2 separate regions of the Homo sapiens genome follow, and region 1 is linked to region 2. Evidence: promoter capture Hi-C in 16 types of primary human blood cells and fetal thymus (Javierre and others, 2016). All regions are on one chromosome and are shown on one strand. The core of a region is centred on a gene start or on the middle of the fragment in contact, and the rest is flanking DNA. Distances in the headings are between cores, read along the strand shown.

What was found. The method cuts DNA at HindIII sites, captures the fragments that hold promoters and counts their contacts. A CHiCAGO score of 5 or more calls a contact.
Region 1: a fragment that was not itself captured here is called in contact with the fragment with the promoter of C11orf65 in region 2 in 2 of 17 cell types (monocytes and naive CD8 T cells); the score reaches 6.9 in monocytes.

What each region holds. Positions count from the first base shown.
Region 1 is chr11:107,556,238-107,561,881 of GRCh38, reverse strand. ALKBH8 (alkB homolog 8, tRNA methyltransferase) reads left to right here. Exons shown (of 12, transcript NM_138775.3): 2 at 983-1,117; 3 at 4,879-5,116. The coding sequence starts at 989. Among named protein-coding and RNA genes, the nearest start is that of ALKBH8, 6.7 kb to the left of the region's middle. The HindIII fragment of the contact is 2,049 bases long and covers 2,452-4,500 here.
Region 2 is chr11:108,464,955-108,471,255 of GRCh38, reverse strand. C11orf65 (chromosome 11 open reading frame 65) reads left to right here and starts at 3,727. Exons shown (of 9, transcript NM_152587.5): 1 at 3,727-3,785. RefSeq lists a cis regulatory region at 3,643, enhancers at 3,571-3,715, 3,656-4,508 and a silencer at 5,540-5,834. The HindIII fragment of the contact is 4,195 bases long and covers 369-4,563 here.

The sequences.
Region 1 (5,644 bases), core at 2,227-4,726, 910 kb after region 2:
AACTATGTACTTTATTATGGTTGCATGCTGCAGGGTGCTGAGACTGTGTGTATTCACTCATTTATTATTCATTTAGCCCTACCATCAAATATTTATTGAGCAACTACTATGTGCTGGCATTCCTGCTCTCTTGGGATTTATATCATGATGGAGGAGTTAAGCTAACAGATGAATCATCACAAATTATGTTACATTTTGTGAACAAAATAAAAGACTACTGTGATAAAGTGTGATAAAGCATGATATTGGGTGCTGATTTGGATGGTGTGATTATAGAGACCTCTTTGGGATTCTGTTATTTAAAAAATTGTAGATATAAAATATATGACACATACAGTTTTTAAAATAGTAAAACAAACACCTACACCTACCATGTAACTGAAGAAACACCCTTTGATGCTCCTATGTGTCACTTTCATGTTAATTTCCTTTCCTTTCACCCACAGAAATAGCCTCTCTCCTGAATTTTGTGTTTATAATTTCCTTGCTTTTTTTTTTGGCACTGCTATGTATGTATTTCTAAATAATATATGGCTTACTTTTTGATTATGACCTTTATGTAAATGGAATCATACTGTAGAGTCTGCTAATTTTTTGTGTGTTATTTCTCCCCCCACCGCTCCCCTGCCTGCTCCTTGCCTTGGTTTACGTTATAGTTGTGAAATTTGTGTATGGCACATTTTACTTAGGACCTCATAAGTAAAGAATTCATCACCTATGAGTAAAATAGCACACTTAATGGAGCTACCACATTGGAACATTTTTTAGAACCATCAGAGCTATGCTATTAGATATTCTTAGATATTTGTTCATTTTTTATTTATCTGTTCTCACTTCTCTTAGTTGGTACAAGGTAAATGAAGCATTTTTAAAAAATTGTCACAGAAATATTGATAAACTATAGAATGTATGAATAACATCATTATAATTGTTCCTTCAGGACTCTTAAGGTTGACTTTTTTACTGTCTTGTTTTTTTACAGTTTGCTATGGACAGCAACCATCAAAGTAATTACAAACTCAGTAAAACTGAGAAGAAGTTCTTAAGGAAACAGATTAAAGCCAAGCATACTTTGCTGAGACATGAAGGCATTGAGACAGTATCCTATGCCACTCAGGTGACCTAAAACTACTATTATTATTAGAATGTAAATGTACTGACATGTTAATGTATTATATTAATATTTGCTAATAATTGCCTAAGGCTGTAATTGTTCAGTCATGTGTTACATCCATATTAGAGGTACATATGATATGAACTGCTAACTTTCTATTTTGGTCCATAGCCTATAGTTTGCATTTCTATTTATTTTGTTGTTTGAACTAGAAGAGGTTGTAGTTATATATTAATAATAATACTGTGCAAGTTTCTCAGTTTCCTAAGCATACTTATATTCATTATTATATTTAATTCCCTAGAAGTCCTTATGAGATAGGTGAGAAAACTAAAGTTCTGAGAGGTTATGATATGTCTCCATTGATATAAGCTAGTAAGTAGCTAATAGAAACTTAAAGCTAGATCTTCCATATCCTACTACAGCCCTTGTTCTTCTCTTCCCAACCTTAACCTGTTTTATAAAGTATTTTGATTATGTGCTGTTAAACATTTTTATTTTATTAGACCTTATTAACAAAGTCTTTTCATTATCTGCGGACAATAATTAAATGAGATGATAAATGTGAGGATCGTGAGATTTCCTGGGTTATGAATTAGGAGAACTCAGTTTAACTCTTAGCTTTTCTGGACACGAGTAGTAGTATCCTCTGACCTCAGCTTTCTTCATTTTTAAGCAGGGCATAGTATTGCATACCTTTTTAACCCCATTAGATTGTTAGATTCCAGAGAATCTAATTGTACTTACTGGACATTAAATTACTCCATGAATATAAGGAGTTCTTATCTTTTTGGCTCATAAAGTTATAGAATAAAAGTAGAAAGTAAGCTTTAGATATCATTTAATTGAGGGGTGGACATACAATTGAGAAGGTGGAGCAGGGATTAAAACTTAGGCCTCTCAACTCTCAGACCAATACTCTTGCCTTAATGCTTACTATGCTGTCTTCTGTACAACATCATAGCTTGAGAATGAGCAGTCTGTTGAGGCACATTTGAATTTAGGAGGTAAAAGGCCCATACTTGGAGTTAAATATTAATGTCTTCAGAGAATTTAAGCCACATTCCTATAGCAAGGATGAAATAGATAATAGATTAGAATTAATATGTTTGCATACACTTTACTGTTTCAGTCAAGAGCCACTGAGGCTGTGAGACATTCAGAAGATTAAACTGACATACACTGCTCTCATCACTTTCCAAGAGTGACTTGTGTTCCTTTCCTTACAGGGTTTATGAAGAGAAGTAGCAAGAAAAAAAAAATAGGCTCCATTTCTTTGACCCCTCTGAAGCTTGTTTCTGGTTGGGTCTGCCTTTTCTTTAGGATCTCTAGAAGCTTTGATGTCCTTCATGGCTTCCAAAGTAGCATTTTATTTAGGCTTTCTTTTTTCTCCATATTCTTAAAGGAAAAGAATAAAATTGTAGATGGACCTCTAATTATATTTTATCTTTCCAGGGGAGAGCAAATATTGTTTTAATGATATTGTATTAGTCTGTTGTCATGCTGCTGATAAAGACATACCCGAGACTGGGTAATTTTTTAAAGAGAAAGAGGTTTAATGAACCCACAGTTCCACGTGGCCGGGGAGGCCTCACAATCGTGGCAGAAGGCGAAAGTCCTGGCTTACATGGCGGCAGGCAAGAAAGAATGAGAGCCAAGCGAAAGGGGAAACCCCTTATAAAACCATCAGATCTCATGAGACTTATTCACTACCACGAGAACATTATAGGGGAAATGGCCCCCATGATTCAATTATTTCCCAGTGGGTCCCTCCCACAAAATGTGGGAATTATGGGAGCTAAAATTCAAGATGAGATTTGGGTGGGGACACGCCAAACCATATCGGATGTATTATAATTTTAGGCTCCTTTGTACAAATTTATGGCATTACAGATTTTTCTAGAGCAATGATCCTCAAATTGTCAGGACCAAAGATAACTTAAAAAAAATTCACATTCTCTACTTCATACATACTCCTCCTTATTTAGAAAATTGCTTGAACAATTATAAATAAAATAATAGTTCCATTTAATTATTGCATTAATTATATTACATTTAGTTATGACATTTAATTATATGTATCTCACATTTAATGGAAAATAAGTTCCTCTCCTCTTCTACCGCACTTGTTTTTGTGTGGTTTACCTTTAGAGTTGCCCACAAAACACTCAGACGGCATCTTAGAGGACTTCTAGTATTCCTGAAGTCATACTTCATCATCTTCCATTCCTAGATGGGGTAGTGGACCCTCAACACCAATGAAACCTTTGCTCTTCCATAGATTTAGGAATATGGGAATGTTTTTGCAACTATGGCCACATATAACCAAGTTATTTTGGTATTTTAATTAATAAACCTCATTAAGTGAGGTCCAGGGCAAGCCATCTGAGACTCCATTTTACTCCATATCATATAGTATTGTATTAGTGGGCTTGTTTATTATGTATGTATATGCTTGCATGCATACAAAGTACTGGCTGTCCCATGACAAAACAGTTTTACTTTCCTTATTGTCCAATTTCATAATAATTCTTTTATATCCTTTTCAAACAAAGTTCTAGGTATTCTTATTTTGTGTAATAAACCAATACACAATGTACTATCACTGAGCTTAGTATAAATTAAGGGTTGGCAAACTACTGTCCTTAGACTAAATCAGGGTTGTGACCAAAATAATGAGTTTTACATTCTTAAAGTGTTAAAAAATAATACTAAGACTATCTGACAGAAACTTTTATGGCCTGCCAAGCCTAAAATATTTACTATCTACCTCTTCTCAGAAAAACGTCATCAACACCTGGTATAAATGAAGAAATTGATGAGAGTAGGCCATCCATGGCTTTCTTTTGTTATATTGAAATGTTTTTAGAAGTCATAGAACATAAATTAAAAATCTTTACATTGTATAGAATGGTTAAGTATAGAGACTATATGGGTGCTAGACCATGAACATCAGAATAAAAATAAGAGACTCCTCTTTCATCCCTGCAAAATTTCCTTGAATAAAGTTTAGTGCAGGACTATGCAAACAGCAGGAAGTAATCGTGAAACTTACAAAGGAAAAAGTTTTCATTGTGAACTGACTGAATTACTTAGTCTGAATTTCCTTAGAGGAAAATTTTTTCCTAATTATGTTCAATAGAAGCTATAATTGGTTTTTCTTTGAGGTAATAGTACCTTTACTTTTAATTTTTAGTAAACATTGTATAATGGTTATATTAAAAGTGCGGATCCTGGAAACGGACAGAAATAGGTTTAAACCCACCCCTAATCACCACCTTAACCTAATTTGTCAGATCTTCTTCTATGAAATTGGGCTGATATTACCCAAATAAATTCAATATGTTGTGAAGATTATGTTAATGAGGATTGAGTAGATAAAAGCTTATAGAACAGTCTTGCCAAAAAGCAAGTGTTATGTAACTGTCCTTTCTCCTCTCCACCTCTTTCATTATGTTAAATTTATATTTCTGAATAATAGTCATGTTTTAATTTGCATTTATGGTCATTTAGAAATGAATATTTTGTGAAATTGGCTATTTAAACAACACAATTTACAATATAGGAGTCCTTTTTATTCCCCAAATTTTTAGTAAATTGGTTTACATACTTTGTATGAAATTAGCAAACCAAACAACCACTACAAGGAAATGCTTTTTTTTTCTTAATTACATCTTTTTTAAAAAAAATCTTATTTTAAAACAAATGGGTTGGTATCAGTTGCTCATGTTACTTTCTTTTTGTTTGTTTGTTTGTTTTTTAAGAGCCTGGTTGTTGCCAATGGTGGTTTGGGTAATGGTGTGAGTCGGAACCAGCTGCTCCCGGTTTTAGAGAAATGTGGACTGGTGGATGCTCTCTTAATGCCACCTAACAAGCCGTACTCATTTGCAAGATACAGAACTACAGAAGAATCTAAGAGAGCCTATGTTACCCTCAATGGAAAAGAAGTAGTGGATGATTTAGGACAAAAGATCACTCTGTATTTGAATTTTGTGGAAAAAGGTATTATCATACAATTATCTTTTAAAAAATGATTCTTCTGGGTGTTTTCTTTTCATAGACTTAAGTTGGGAGGTTCAGTTATTGTGAAACAAAATGAGGAAGCAGGTTAGCAGCTCCTTTTACTTTAACAAACATTCTTTAAGCACCTATTTGTGCCAGGCATGGGACAAGTAGTTGACAGTACAGAGGTGAATAAGATACAACCTGCCTTTACAAAGCTAGTCCCACCAGTCAACAATATATTTATTAGGCACATGGCTTATTTTGGAACCCTCCTGCCTAATTGTGTTTTTCAAAATTTAATAATGAGGGTTTGCATTACTAGTTTATTTCACATATCTACCCAGGAGCTTTGAATTAATCACTTAAGAATGAATCGTGATCCAAATGATCATGTACCAATCTTCATATTTATAGCAGAACACCTGTAGCTACCAAAGATTCCTAAAACTTTATTTTTATTTATTTATTTATTTTTTTGCTTTTTGAGACAGAGTTTTGCTCTTGTTGCCCAGGCTGGAGTGCAAT
Region 2 (6,301 bases), core at 2,478-4,977:
ATCACTCAGATCAATAAACTGGCTTATCTGGTCTTGTGGCCCCGACCCAGGAACTGACTTAGCATAGGAGGACAGCTTCGACTCCCTTTGATTTCATCTCTGACCCAACTAATCAGCAGCTCCCCACTTTCTGATCCCCTACCCACCAAATTGTCCTTAAAAACCACAATCCCTGACATTTCAGGGAGACTGATTCAAGAAATAAAACTGCGGTCTCCCATACTGCCAACTCTGCAAGAATTAAACTCTATTGCAATTCCCCTGTCTTGATAAATTGGCTCTGTCTAGGCAGCAGACAAGGAGAACTCATTGTGTGGTTACAGTCTCAAAAAAAAAAAAAAGAAAAGAAAAGAAAAAATATTTAAGCTTGGCACCATTATTTTTGTTGATGGTGAAAATACTAAAAGGGGCCAGGCATGGTAGCTCACGCCTGTAATCCCAGTACTTTGGGAGGCCGAGGTGGGTGGATCACAAGGTCAGGAGATCGAGACCATCCTGGCTAACACAGTAAAACCCCATCTCTACTAAAAATACAAAAAATTAGCCAGGTATCATGGAGGGCGCCTGTAGTCCCAGCTACTTGGGAGGCTGAGGCAGGAGAATGGCGTGAACCCAGGAGGCAGAGCTTGCAGTGAGCTGAGATCCTGCCACTGCACTTCAGCCCGGGCAACAGAGCGAGACTCCATCTCAAAAACAAAAAAAAAAAAAGAAAAAGAAAATACAACAAGGGTACACAGAAGACAAACAGTCCCCTGGCATAACAAGAGTCACTGTAGTGAAGAGGACAGATTTCTCAGCCAAGAATTAGCTAAAGGTGCCAACTCCCTTCCTCTAGCCTCTTCAAACTGCTAAGCCTCAACAAGAGGATTGATGCCTGGTTGGAGGTCCCTCTGGCCTCCTTTAGGACCACTGCAGGACCTGTGCCTTTGACCCACACCCACTCCTCATGTGTGACATTGTGGTTTTCTACTACATGACATATTTTCCACAATTATAAAAGATTCCATGCTCACATCCGGGAGACAGCCTTGGAGTCCCCTATTGTTGGAGTTTGCTCCAGTGCCAAAGCAGAGAGGAAAGAAATGGCATATAATTGTGACTCTTCTCCCTAGGCAAAATGGCATGTAATTGTGACTCTTCTCCCTCGGCACTACAGATATTTCCCCTTTCCTCATGCCAATTCATTTTTGTTTCCTTATCTCTTGTCTTCACATGGTTTATAAAGAAAAATCTTTGCCTTGTAAGTGGAAAGCAAGAATATTAATTTCATAAATATAATATGATATATTGTATAATAGTAGTAAGACAAAGAAGAGAGAAAAAGAAGAGGAAGAGAATAAGTGGAGAGGGGAAGAGAGAAGGAAGGAAGGAACGATTTCTGTGAAACCACCCAGAAGTTCTTCTGAGTTCTGCGTCTTAGTAAACTGTTCCTAGATTTAAGCAGGTACATATAAATGAATAAACCTAACACTTGACAGTTTCTAGTCTTAATGATCCCTTGTGGCTACTTTAAAGAAAGATACTTTTAAAGAACTGAACAATTTTTACATGTATTAGAGCAATAAGAAAATGTTCTAGCCTGTTATGTAGAAATTGCTGAATTCTTGTGGATCAGGTTAGAGGTAACATAAGTACTCAACAGTAACTATTGTAAATACTTTTTAAAATAATTCAGATAAGCACTACATTAAAAATATGCAGTTTATTAGGTTGATGCAAAAGTAATCGCGGTTTTTGCCATTATGTTTAATTATGTATGTTTAATGACAAAAACCGCAATTACTTTTGCACCAACCTAATAAAAATAATATCTAAACAGCAGTATACCTTAAATTTATTTTTATATTTCATCCAGTACATTTAGGAATTTTTGTTCTAAATTATTTACTGGCTTAGTTTTGCAGTTTTTTAATTTAAAATTTTTAAATTGTGGTAAAATATACATAAATTTATCCTTCTAACTAGTTTCAATTGTACAATTCAGTGGACTTAAGTACATTCACATTGTTGTGTAATTTTGAATTTAATTTTTTTTTTTTTTTAGAGGGAATCTTGCTGTGTTGCCAGGCTGAAGTGCAATGGCGCTATCTCGGCTCACTGCAACCAACCTCTGCCTCCCGGGTTCTATCAATTCTCCTGCCTCAGCTTCCTGAGTAGCTGGGACTACAGGCAGCGCGCCACCAGGAGATTGAGACCATCCTGGCTAACACAGTAAAACCCCGTCTCTACTAAACATACAAAAAATTAGCCGGGTATCATGGAGGGCGCCTGTAGTCCCAGCTACTTGGGAGGCTGGGCTAATTTTTGTATTTTTAGTAGAGAGGGGGTTTCACCATGTTGTCCAGGCTGGTCTTGAACTCCTGACCTCAAGTGATCCGCCCACCTCAGCCTCCCAAAGTGCTGGGATTACAGGTGTGAGCCACCACACCTGGCCTGAATTTAAATTTTTTAACCCAGTTTCTATTAGATTGAAAATTAAGATATACATAATGTTTCCATGACTATATTTTTACAGTTTATTGTTCATAACTACTGTGTATTAATGCATCAAGGCAACTACATAAAGAGGAACTGAAGCTCACCCCTTGCTTATGATTGTGATGATTTTAAAGAACTCTGGAAGTTCAGTGAGTCACTGAATTAACCTACCAAGAATTTTTTCTGTACAAATGTTTTCATTATACAGGGAAATTTCTCTTCAGGTGTTTCTTTTCCCTCCTTAAAAGTTTATCTTCCTTACAAACAAATTATATTCCATGCATGAACATAGGACGAACATAGCAAAACTGGGCAGTTCTGAACAAGATTTTTTCACATTGCAATAATCTGTGACCAACTAAAGCACTGCCAAAGTGTCAGACTCAGAATTCAAGCAAGTCAGACTTGCTTTAGATAAGCAGTGCTTGCATTATTTAAGGTCATTTGAAAACTCATTCAAGAGGTCGTCTGTTTTCACTTAAAGCAGTTTAGCTTAACCAGCTGAAGAGCTTACATTTAGAAATAACATTGGACTGCAAGTCACGTATTCTTTGACCTTGAGCAAGACCTGTCAAATAGCTAGAAGGATCAGTTGTCTCATTTTCAAATGAATAAATTAAACTAATTAAATAGGCCGGGCGCGGTGGTTCACGCCTGTAATCCTAGCACTTTGGGAGGCCAAGGCGGGAGATGGGGTAGGGGGGGATCGCTGGAGCCCAGGAGTTCAAGACCAGCCTGGACAACATGGAGAAACCCTGTCGCCACTATTAATAAAAATAGAAAAATGAGCCTGGCGTGGTGGTGCACTCCTACGGTCCCAGCTACTCGGGAGGCTGACGTGGGAGAATCACCTGAGCCAGGGGAGTTCCAGGCTGCAGTGAGCCGAGATCGCGCCACTGCACTCCAGCCTCGGCCACAGATTGAGACCCTATCTCAAGAAAAATTTTACAAAAATTAATAGAAAATATTTCATTATATTTCTCAACATCTTTAAGGTTCTTGGTTGAAATGACTGGGCTTTATTATATACTAAGCCCAACTTCGTAGACAATCACTTTGCTTTCCCTTCCAAAATCCTTTGCCTCAAAGCCACTGACAATCGAAAGCGGGCTTCTAACAGAACCAGCAGCCTTCACAAGCGGTTGGTCTATATCCCCTGCACTTTGTCAGAGCGCGAATAGAGGAAAGGCGGGGCCTAGAAGGCGGGGCTAGGAGGGCAATGGGGCGGGACAGAACGGATTGAGTTACGTCATTTCCGCCTGCGACGTTACCTAGGAGTCCAGCGGCGCCCGGGCCAGCAGCGATTGGTAGGTGAAGGGAATAGTGTCCCTTCTCTCAGCGCGTACTACTGTTCCGGTAGCCTTTGTGCCCACTGGTTTGAGCCTTCGTTGTTTCAAGGCCCTAAAGAACCCATACCCTTGATACCATTCCCCATCCGCCCCTCTTAAGGACGTTTCATTCCTCTAAAGCCCTCCCAGCGAGGCCTCCAGCTGGTTTACAGTCCTGCCCGGGAGTAACCCCTTCCTCAGAGCTCCTTTCCTCGCCCTCGGTGAAGTTGCGTCGGGCTGGTTGACAAGTCCTTACTGCTCATACTGCGCCTTCACAGATCCCCACACCCCAATCCTCCGCAAAGATATTACTCCGTCCACCTTCCCGCTGACCGGGAAGTACACATTAATCTTCCTTAGATTTTTCCTCATTTCTTTCCTTTGCCCCCTCCCATTTGTTTTACGTCTTTTCAGTTTTTTTAGAGATGGAAAAGGGAAACGCGTTTTTAAAGAATAGGTTAGTTTTTCTTCTCCTGCCCCTAGCATCAAGGACCACAGGTAAAAAGGAAAAGCGAAATTACGAAACTTATAAAGGCCACGCGAATCATTTGTTTATTCAATAAATTTAGTAGAGGAAACAAAATAGGACGTATACAGGTTCCAATTCAAGCAAAGTAAAGATTGTTTGCTGCTTTAAAAGTGAAACCAAGAATCCAAACACGTCTTGTGGGCTTTTTTCCACGAAGCGTAAAAATAAATAAGTGAAAACATCATCTATTATGATAAAAAATTTTATTGATTAGGGATATAATAAGCTTGGAAAATACTTATCTGTGAATCTACAAGTGGCACATGGGTGTAGTAAAATACTTCATTGCCTGAGCAGTTGTTTGATAGTACATTTTATTTGGTTAGTTTTTTGTTGTTGTTTGTTTTTGAGAAGGCATCTCGCTGTGTTGCCCAGGCTGAGTGCAGTGGCGTGATCTCAGTTCACTGCAACCTCTGCCTCCTGGGTTCAAGTTATTCTCCTGCCTCAGCCTTCCGAGTAGCTGTGACTGCAAGTGTGCGCCACCACACCCAGTTTATTTTTGTATTTTTACTAGAGACAGGGTTTCACCATATTGGCCAGGCTGGTCTCAAACCCCTGACTTAAGGTGATCTGCCCACCTTGGCCTCCCAAAATGTTAGGATTACAGGCCTGAGCCACCAGACCCGGCCTGGTAGTACATTTTAGTATCTTAAAACTTATGAAGGGTTTTCACAATGGTTATTTTATCTGGAGCATCATAATAACCATATAAAGTCGATCTTATTTCTTATCTAAAGCCAGCAACGGTCCCACCCTCCTTTCTGCTCCAGATGGTGTCCTCTTACACCTACTCAAAGGTTTTACCATTTAACTTATCCCTTTTTTTGCCCCTTTAAGTTCTCCGTCACTTTAATTTCTCCCTCACTACTGGATGGTACATTTTAACATGCTTTAGAATCTGTCGTTTTTTGTTGTTGTTGTTGTTTTTTTTTTTTTTTAGACCGAGTTTCACTCTTGTTGCCCAGGCTGGAGTAGTGGCATGATCTCGACTCACCGCAACCTCCGCCTGCCAGGTTCAAGCAATTCTCCTGCCTCAGCCTTCCTGAGTAGCTGGGATTACAGGCATGCGCCACCACACCCAGCTAATTTTGTATTTTTAGTAGAGACGGGATTTCTCCATTTTGGTCAGGCTGGTCTCAAACTCCCAACCTCAGATGATCCGCCCACCTTGGCCTCCCAAAGTGCTGGGATTACAGGCGTGAGCCACCGCGCCCAGCCTTTTTTTTTTAAAAAAAAACCTTTAATCCATTCTCACTCTCTAGCTACACCCCATTTTTCTGCTCCCTTACAGCACTCCAAAGAATTACTACTGTACTTACTGTCTCAACTTTCCCACTTCCTCAACCCAACCCAAACTTCCTTCCCTGCTTACTCCACTGAAGCAGTGCCTGTACAGTCACTAGTGACTTTATCTGGCCAAATCTCCCTTTTTTTCCTCTGTATTTACTTGCCCTTGCAACAATATTTGACACAATTGAATATGTTCTTTCTTGAAATTGTGGAACTTCATTGTTTATTTCTGAATCAGATAATTTTGAATGCTGGAATATATTTCCTCTATATTTTGTGTATTCATAAACATATAATGGTGGCATTTATGACATACTTTTTTGGCAGCTTCTAAACACCCTTTAGCCTATGTCACTAGAGAAGCAGGAAGCAGGTGTATGCAGAAAGCCCGTGTAAAATTATTTAGATCAAAGTATTCAATAAACTGGTTCAGGATTTTCAAGGGATTTTTAAGATCCAGTGTTAAATTTCCACCTACAAAATTGGGAATGTATTTGGGAAAATGATGAAATTGTGATGAATTAATGCTAATGCTGTCACGTTAAATAACACACACACTACATTGATAACAGGTAAAAAATCTCACAGTTTAGTTCTTGGAAAGTATTAAAAGACCCATTTTAATCCTAATATCTAATTTACGTTTAGTTTTTTACTTTTCTAAAATTTAGAGTCA